Linked DNA regions of Homo sapiens: region 2 is linked to region 1. Evidence: promoter capture Hi-C in 16 types of primary human blood cells and fetal thymus (Javierre and others, 2016). All regions are on one chromosome and are shown on one strand. The core of a region is centred on a gene start or on the middle of the fragment in contact, and the rest is flanking DNA. Distances in the headings are between cores, read along the strand shown. Region 1 holds the start of TMT1A (thiol methyltransferase 1A). Region 2 holds the start of LIMA1 (LIM domain and actin binding 1).

The links. The method cuts DNA at HindIII sites, captures the fragments that hold promoters and counts their contacts. A CHiCAGO score of 5 or more calls a contact.
Region 2: a contact is called between the fragment with the promoter of LIMA1 here and the fragment with the promoter of TMT1A in region 1, in 5 of 17 cell types (erythroblasts, M2 macrophages, megakaryocytes and 2 more). The highest score is 13.0, in erythroblasts.

What each region holds. Positions count from the first base shown.
Region 1 is chr12:50,923,331-50,927,754 of GRCh38, forward strand. TMT1A (thiol methyltransferase 1A) reads left to right here and starts at 1,685. Exons shown (of 2, transcript NM_014033.4): 1 at 1,685-2,206. The coding sequence starts at 1,709. RefSeq lists enhancers at 799-1,008, 2,022-2,565. The HindIII fragment of the contact is 3,129 bases long and covers 1-2,772 here.
Region 2 is chr12:50,281,075-50,285,915 of GRCh38, forward strand. It overlaps LIMA1 (LIM domain and actin binding 1), which reads right to left and starts at 2,446. Exons shown (of 11, transcript NM_016357.5): 1 at 2,346-2,446. LOC107984505 (a long non-coding RNA gene) reads left to right here and starts at 2,547. Exons shown (of 2, transcript XR_001749144.2): 1 at 2,547-2,808. RefSeq lists a silencer at 2,357-2,666. The HindIII fragment of the contact is 1,384 bases long and covers 1,738-3,121 here.

The DNA.
Region 1 (4,424 bases), core at 435-2,934:
AGAACACTCCCTGTATCCATCACCCAGTTTTTTAAAGTAAATGTTTACTATTTTTAAAAAATTATTTTTTTCTGTGTTCCCTAGCCACCCTAAAGCTCAGGCCTTTTTCTTTTTCTTCTTTCTTTTTTTTTTTTTTTTTTTTAAAGAGATAGAGTCTCACTATGTTGCCCAGACAGGATTTGAATTCCTGGGCTCAAGGTATGCTTCTGTCTTAGCTCCTCAGTAGCTGAGACCATGGGCACCCACCACTGTGCCCAGATTCGGGCTTTCTTGTAAAAAGCGGATGGATGCTTGAAACTATTTTCTGAATCCCTTTGGCTCCCAAATGTGAATATTCTGGGAAATATTTTTATCCAAATTAGCTGAGTAATCGAGTAGTTAGGCACATTTTGAAGACTGAGGCTTGTCCTTTAAAAGAAGGGCAGCCCACAAACTGACTTCCTTGAGCCAAAAATTGTTTTAAAAGGGGAAGTACAGCCCAAAACAGTGATTTTAAAATATCAACAAAAAGAGTCAAATTCTGTAAAATATTTAAAGAGATTTATTCTGAGCCAAATATGAGTGACCATGTCCTGTGACACAGCCCTCGGGAAATCCTGAGAACATGTGCCCAAGGTGGTCAGGGTACAGCTTGGTTTTCTACATTTTAGGGAGACATGAGGCTTCAATCAAATACATTTAAGAAATACATTGGTTCAGTCCAGAAAGGCAGGACAACCCGACGCGAGGCAGGGAGCTTCCAGGTTATAGGTACGTTTTAAATTTTTCTGGTTGACAATTGGTTGAGTTTATCTAAAGACCTGGGATCAATAGAAAGGAAATGTCTGGGTTGCAATAAGAGTTGTGGAGACTGAAGTTTTATTATGCAGATGAAGCCTCCAAGTAGCAGGCTTCAGAGAGAATAGATTGTAAATGTACTTAAGGTCTGCGTTGATGTGAATGCCGGCTTGAGGTATAATGAGGCATATCTGACCCCCACTTCCCCTCATGGCCTGAAACAATCTCTCAAGTTAAATTTTAAAAGCGCCCTGGCCAAGGAGAAAGTCCATTCAGATGGTTAGAGGCCTTAGAACATTATTTTTGGTTTACAAAAACGTTGAGTTGTGAACACTGAGAGCCTCTGCCCAGAATGTAAAAGAGAGAATTCTTGCTGACTGTGGCCGGGCATGCATGTCCTTTCACTTCCTTTTTTTTTTTTTAAAAAAAAAAAAAAAAAAAAAAAAAACAGGGTTTGGGCGGGGGAAGTAAGGGGGATGTGTTATGATAAAGGGGCCTTGGCAGCACTCTTCTGGTGTGGTTTGACCAGGCTCCACCCACGAATTCTGTTTTCTTTTAGAGGTCACTGGAGAGCCCGGTGGGGTGTAAGTACACTGCGCTTATAAAACTCTAGCAGGAAGCTAGCAGCTGTCTCCAAACCCAGAGAAGGGGAAACAGGAATCGATTAGGAATAAAGGATTATAATCCACTTTCCTTCTGAGGAAAAGCTGGGAACCTTCTCATTTTGCCTTATGAAAACTAAGCTGAATCGACTGCTGCCAAACATCTATTAGGCAAAATTGGCCTCTTGCCCATGATTTGACTTTCCAGCACAGCCAGTTCTTTTTCTCCTCTGCAGCTGATTGGCTCTGGAGTGTGGCCAGAAGCCTCTCTCCTGCAATTAAAGGAGTCGGGTCTCTAACTGTTGATCTGTTTTTTTCCCTTCTGAGCAATGGAGCTTACCATCTTTATCCTGAGACTGGCCATTTACATCCTGACATTTCCCTTGTACCTGCTGAACTTTCTGGGCTTGTGGAGCTGGATATGCAAAAAATGGTTCCCCTACTTCTTGGTGAGGTTCACTGTGATATACAACGAACAGATGGCAAGCAAGAAGCGGGAGCTCTTCAGTAACCTGCAGGAGTTTGCGGGCCCCTCCGGGAAACTCTCCCTGCTGGAAGTGGGCTGTGGCACGGGGGCCAACTTCAAGTTCTACCCACCTGGGTGCAGGGTGACCTGTATTGACCCCAACCCCAACTTTGAGAAGTTTTTGATCAAGAGCATTGCAGAGAACCGACACCTGCAGTTTGAGCGCTTTGTGGTAGCTGCCGGGGAGAACATGCACCAGGTGGCTGATGGCTCTGTGGATGTGGTGGTCTGCACCCTGGTGCTGTGCTCTGTGAAGAACCAGGAGCGGATTCTCCGCGAGGTGTGCAGAGTGCTGAGACCGGTGAGTGAAAGGGTGTGAGGAGGACTAGTTAGTAGCAGCTATTATCATAGAGGGCAGGCCTGTCAATTTCAGGTGGCTGAAACATTTTAACATAAAAAGTAAACTACTAGAAAATACTGTAGAATTTTTTAAAATTTTAGCGTGGGAGAGAAGCTATAAAGAGAAAGATTGATAAATCTGAATATAAAAACTTAAAACTGCTATAAAGAAAAAACCTCCTGGCCGGGCACAGTGGTTCACGTCTGTAATCCCAGCATTTTGGGAGGCCAAGGCAGGCAGATCGCTTGAGGTCAGGAGTTCGAGACCAGACTGACCAATATGGTGAAACCCCATCTCTATTAAAAATACAAAAATTAGCCAGGCATGGTGGCAGGTGCCTGTAGGCAGGAGAATCGCTTGAACCTGGTGGGGCAGAGGTTAAAGTGAGCCAAGATTGCACCACAGCACTCCAGCCTAGGCAACAGAGTGAAACTCCATCTCAAAAAAAAAAAAAAAAAAAAAAAGAAAGAAAGAAAAAAAAGAATAAGAAAAAAAAACTCCCCAAAACAAAGTTAAACTACAAAACAAGCTTGGAAAAAATATTTGCCAGGGATGATAGACAAAGGGTTAACTTCCCTCATGTTAAAAGACATTACATGTCAATAAGATCAATATTTTTCAATAAGAAAAACAAAAGGGAAAATGGGCAAATAACAGGAACAGAAATGTAAACCAATTATAGGACAAAAGTGCTCAAACTTAAAGAGTTAATTAAAGGAGATACTAATTTTACCTATTATACTGTTAGGGACTTCTTTTAAGGTCAGTATAGGGTTGGGGTGGGTTTAGGGGACTGGACACCACCATACACATTAGAAGAGGTACCCTCTTTGGGTGGTATCTGATAATATCAAAATTTAAACCACACATACTCTTTTATCCACATGCAAAAACTTGTCCATACACAAGAATATTAAGTAGAATTTGTAATTGCACAAACTGGAAATAACTGAAATGTCTATCAATAGGATGCTATGTAAGTGAGTTGTCATATTGTATAAAGGAACACTGTGCAGCTGTCAGAAAGAACAAGAAGAGTTATCTGTGCTGATACTTAAAAATCCCCAAGGGATAATGTTTAATGAAAACAAAAAGCAATCAAGCCACAGAATGTTAGGTAGAGCGTAGGCCCACCACATGCCCATTGTGTGAGGCAGGGAGAGGAGATACATATATGTGTATAAGTTAATGGGAATGACAGACAAGTAACTATTAACAGTGGTTGCCTTTGGGGAATGGGATTGGATTCAGGGAAAGAATTACTTTTCATTTTAAACCTTTCCGTAAAGTCTGTAATTCTTTATACCTGTATGTAGTTTTCACATATTACCCTTATTATTTTTAGCTAGTTTAAAATCGTTTTATATTCTGAACAAAGTTGAAGATATGGATATCTTAACATTTGAATTTACTCTTCTGGGGGAAAGGCATGTTTTGTAATCCCCAGTTTTCATTTTTTGTTGAGACAGGGTTTCCCTCTGTCACCCAGGCTGGAGTGCAGTGGCATGATCACAGCTCACTGCAGCCTTGACCTGCTGGACTCAAGCAATCTTTCCGTCTCAGCCTCCCCACCCTCCCAGCAGCTGGGACTACAGGCATGCACCACCACACCCAGCTAGTTTTTGTATTTTTGTAGAGATGAGGTTTCGCCATGTTGCCCAGGCTGGTCTCAAACTCCTGGGCTCAAGTGGTCTGCCCACTTTGGCCTCTCAAAGTGTTGGGATTACAGGTGTGAGCCACCATGCCCAACCATCAGTTTTATTTTCTAATAGAGGAAGTTCCTCAGGAAGAAAAGAACTTGGAGATAGGGTTTAGGGAAAATCATACAATCCTGTCTTGGCTCAATATCAGAGTAGTAAATAAAAAAGGACTGATTCTTATACCCAAATGCTGGGTTCTTATATGCTAAGACTGGGCACCAACTGGCACATTAGTAGATGTTTTGCTTACAGTGTTACTAATCTCCCAACACCGCTGCAAGGCAGGTAATTATTATCTCAGTTTTCCAGTGCCAAAAATCAATTGAACTCTTAAAGTTATCACATTCGTGATAGTCTTCCTTAGCTCCTGCCAAGCACCCACTCTCTGCTGGATATAACAAGGGAACTTTATTACATTTTCATTTAACCCTGTCAACAGTCCTCTAAAGTACATATCTTCATGTTAGGACAAAGAAACA
Region 2 (4,841 bases), core at 1,196-3,695, 640 kb before region 1:
AATAAATTCTTCCAATTTGTGGTTAGGTGCCCTATTATGCCAAAGATGTCTAATGAACTCCCACACTCTCAATATTCTTTTGTGTCTGTGTGTGTGTCTTTGATAAATTTTTTTGGTACGAGGGCTCTAAGTTAATTGCAGTTAACTGGTGAAAAATACCAGAGAAAATATAAGAATTTGAAACCTGAAGAAACACTAGTCAAAATTATACTTAAAAACATTTTTCCCCACCCACCTATCTACCCTGTCTTCCCCACCCAAGAAAAAAAGAAAGAGAAAAACATTTTGAGGGCATCTTAGCAGGAAAAAGTATCCCCTGTCACCAAGATGTGAATTGTTTTAGCTTCTGAAGCTTTCTTTTAGAATTATTAGGTTGAAATTTAGCCCCACCTTTAACCAGAGTCTGGAACAAAGCTTGAGTGTACCAAGTTAAAGAAAGTTATACAATGAGGTAATTTTTACAAAATGGCACTCCTTTGCTAATGTTGCCAATATACTGTTCTCTTCCCAGGGACTACCTGATAACAACACTTCCCAGCCCAATACAGAACAGTGGAAACAGATCCAACTATTTACTAAATGCCACATTAACAACAGGGTCTAATCCCATTTTCCATAGGCCATAGAATTGGAGGAAGAGAGGGTAAGAAATATGAAAGTGATACAAATACATAGATTGAAGAGAATCACTCATTATTACTCAGAGGTTTTTGTTTTTAAGGAAAAGCAGAAGAGAGAATTAAAAAACAAAACAAAACACCTATATTCCCTATGCTCCTACAGTACCCTGGGCTGACCTCTAGTATAGAAATGACCTCACTAATACCATAAATTGTATGTGGATCTGTCTAACCCATTTGATTTTAAGTTCTTTTAGGGTAAAGACGTTTGGCACTTTGAATCTACAGTAGGACTGACATGAAAGGCACTCAATATTTTGTCCAAAGAATGAAATAAGTTCCTAAACTAATTACCTAGTACATTATATGTTGTTCTATCAATGCAAAACAAGAAAACATATATGAACACACACTTTTTTTTGCCTTCTTTCACGCCAACTCTATAATTTTTTGAAGATCTATCTAAAACGTGATCATCCTGCACCCAGGTTATACCTCTACAGGAACTTAGAACATGTTGTTAGGGGTCATGTTCTTTTGTGTCTACATCATACCTCAGAAGAAAGGATTGGTGTTATTTCATGGCTCCTGAAATATTTAGCATTTGTGAATAGTATTGGTAACCAAGCAGATAAAAGGTACTGTGTTAAACCATTTAAATCAAGAGCAAAAGAAAGAATACTTAATGCAAAAGAAAACCTCTCCCCAAAATGGGCATTGCCTTAAAAACTGATAACTCCCTAATTACCTTTGACTAACCTGAAAAGTCAAGTCAATTGAACCATCTGGATTAGGCAGATCTGGATTAGGCAGACTTATCTTTTATTTTTATTTATTTATTTATTTTTTTGTAGAGACAAGGGTCTCGCTAAGTTGCCTTGGCTGGTCTCAAACACCTGGGCTCAAGCGATCCTCCCGCCTCAGTTTCCCAAAGTGTTGGGATTATAGGCGTGAGCCACTGCGCCCGTCCAAGGCAGACTTTTGAAAGCTGGAATTAGGTGCAAGACAATAGTAGTTCAAATATCTCTCACCAGGATCAGCTAAACCGTTCTTGCAAGCATCAGTAAGGAGGCTAGGAAGGGTGCCAGATGGTTCGTTCCTAGCAGCTACAACTTCAAGCTTTAGTATGTGTAGCCAGGGGTGTACAATTACCTTACATTAACACCAACATATGTCGGGGGCAAGTGCCAGCGATATATACACGATAGCGATTCGGGGATGACACATCGGCTGCAAGGACTGCTATATTCTCAACATTCCTCAAAAGGGTGTAAGTGTCTTAAACAGAGTTCAGCTGGCGTAATGGAAGGGAGAAAAAATCGAAAAGAGAGGGAATGGCTGAAAATGAAGGAAAAAGAACAGTTGAATATTACAGTATTTCCCTGGAAGGAGGGTATTTGGAGTTTTAATGAATTGTCACCTTCCTCCACCACACCAGAAAGTATACAGTTAGAATGCAGTGTTCTCGGTGGGAGAGGACGGGGTATTTGCAGCTCCCGCCCTTGGGCAGCAAAGGCTCAGCCCGACATAAGCACTCCCCACCCAGCGCAGGCCCCAGAAGTGAGGAAAGAACGGAGGATCAGCGTCCCTCGACCCCTTATCTCGAGGGGGAGGGACTCACACTCCTTGCACTCCCCCCGCCCCAAAAGTCGAAGGAGAAAGAGGGTGTGGAGAGAAGCCGGGGTCTTCCCGCACTCTCCGGTTGTGGAGAGAGAAGGCCCTTACCTGGCTAAAAGCCGCCTTTCCTCTGCGCTGCTACCAGCCCTGTCACAGGTCCCGGCGCTCTACCTAGCGCACCTGTCGCGACCAAGCTGCTAACACCTACTGCTCCTGCGGCCCCGCCCCGGACCCCGCCCACCGCCGCGGGGGCGCGCACGCCAGACAGCCTCCCGTGCGGCCTCGGGCTGAGCGTGCGCGCCACCGGCTACGTGCCCAGCGCTCGCGTCTGCTCCAGTCGCTCTGGCGGTGCGGGGCGCTGGCGACGGGACAGGGTTTTTGCTGCCCGGGGCCTAGTCTACCTCGGCACGCTTTTCTCTGAAGGAGACACGCACTTGCACGACGTGGGCCTCTGTGCAGCTCTACTTTGTCCTTAACTCCTCTGACTCAACGTTATCGCAGTTTGACTCTGGAGCCACTCAGGTTTTTCCTAAGCTCAACTCTAGCCAGCTAGGTTCCTGGTGCTTTGGGGGTAAGTTGTGTGCAGGGAGGGTGTTTTACAGGAGGCTGTGTGGTGTAGTGGAAAAAGCTGAATTAAGTACATTAATCCTGAAAACGGTTTGACAAGGGCAGATGACGTCCAAGTTCTCCAACAGCTGTTTTTACTCCTCCATTCAGAATAGGAGCTGTGCTAATGGTTTGGAGACCGTCAATTGGCCTAGCACTTGGCCATCCTGCCCCCAAATTCTTGTCCCAGTTCCGTGCCAGCTGCATGATGCCTTTTGATAGTATCCTTCTTTCCTGTACCTCAAGCATAGTAGGGTTTCAGACCACAAGTTTTCTGAAGCTTTTCGGAATTCATGCAGCTTGATGCGTTATTAGTAGGGGCTGCTCGTGGGAAAACGCTTGTAATTACACTTCCTCAAGAAGTTAATGAAAATGTGTGAGAAGAGAGATTTCCAACAGGTGATGAATATGCCAGCCAGTTATTCCCTTCTTCCTTCAAATATCCAGCCTAGACTGATTTCTGGATAGGTATTGTAGAAATAAAAATTTCAGACAAAACAAACTTAGATTTTGAATCGGACAACAGTCAGAACCAAAAGAGGCTCAGACACCCCTGCTCTAGCTGCCCAGGCATCAAACTTTATAGGCTGAACACGAAAGTAAAGAAATTTGATTGGCTACAGCTAAGCGTTTGCCTTATTTGGGTATGGTCACATGGGAGGTCCCTAATTATATAACCACTTGGCTGGTTGTCTGTTTGTGATTGGTTGAAACTCCATTCAAAATCAGGTACAAGGGGCCGGGCGCGGTGGCTCACACCTGTAATCCCAGCACTTTGGGAGGCTGAGGCAGGCGGATCCCCTGAGGTTAGGAGTTCGAGACCAGCCTAGCCAACATGGCGAAGCACCGTCTCCACTAAAAATACAAAAATTAGCCGGACGTGGTGGTAAGTGCCTGTAATCCCAGCTACTCGGGAGGCTGAGGCACGAGAATGACTTGAACCCGGGAAGTGGAGATTGCAGTGAGCAGAGATCTCGCCACTGCACTCCAGCCTGGATGAGAGAACGAGACTCCATCTCAAAAAAACAAAACAAACAAAAGGTGCAAGGAATACCTCTAAATTTTGGGTTGCTTTCTGGGTACAAAAACAACTCCAAACTAATGGCCTGCTACTTATTTTGCATTAACAGTATCAAGTATCAAGACTCCAGCAAAAGTGGCAGACAGCATGGGAATGCTAAAGAGCATACAATATCAATACAGGATAGTACTCCAGAAAATACGTTACCCTGCATGTGGCGTTCCCTCAATAGATGTCTCCCCTCCCCCCAATTTTTTTTAGCTCTGTGCTTTAGTGGATACAAAAATTACTTGCTTTCCCAAAGCCTCCTTTTGAAGATAGAGCTAGCATTAGGTTGATTGCTAAATTTTCAGGGATTTTATGAGCCAGGTCATAAGCACAACCATTATTAGAAATCAAATTATATAAGCTACAATTAAATTATCTTAAAAATAAAAGTAATAGGCCAGGCATGTTGAGTCACATTTGTAATCCCAGTGCTTTGGGAGGCTAAGGCGGGAAGATGGCTTGAGGCTAGAAGTTTGATGTTGCAGTGAGCTATGATCACACCACTGCACTCCAGCCTGGGCAACAGAGTGAGACCCTATTTCTAAAAAAAAATTTTTAAATATAATAAATATTAAAAACTCATCACTTTGTAGTTTTTTTCTTCATTTTACTAATAATTCTGCTCTTGAGGTTATTTGTCCATTGTATTCCCTGTGGAAATACTACATATGTTGTATGCATCTCTTCCCAACTCTATTCAGAAATGTCACATTGGTAGCACGAAATTGGCTGTAAGGGGAGTATTTACACCATGGAAATGGGCAAATGCAGCAAGTCAGGGCGTGATTTATTGTTTTGTTGATTTTTCTAGACCATATGTTAGCAAACCTTTTGTGTAAACAGCCAAATAGTAAATATTTTAGGCTTTGTGGGACTTATAGTCTCTGTCACAGCTACTCAGCTCTCACTGTAGTGCCAAATGTGCCAAA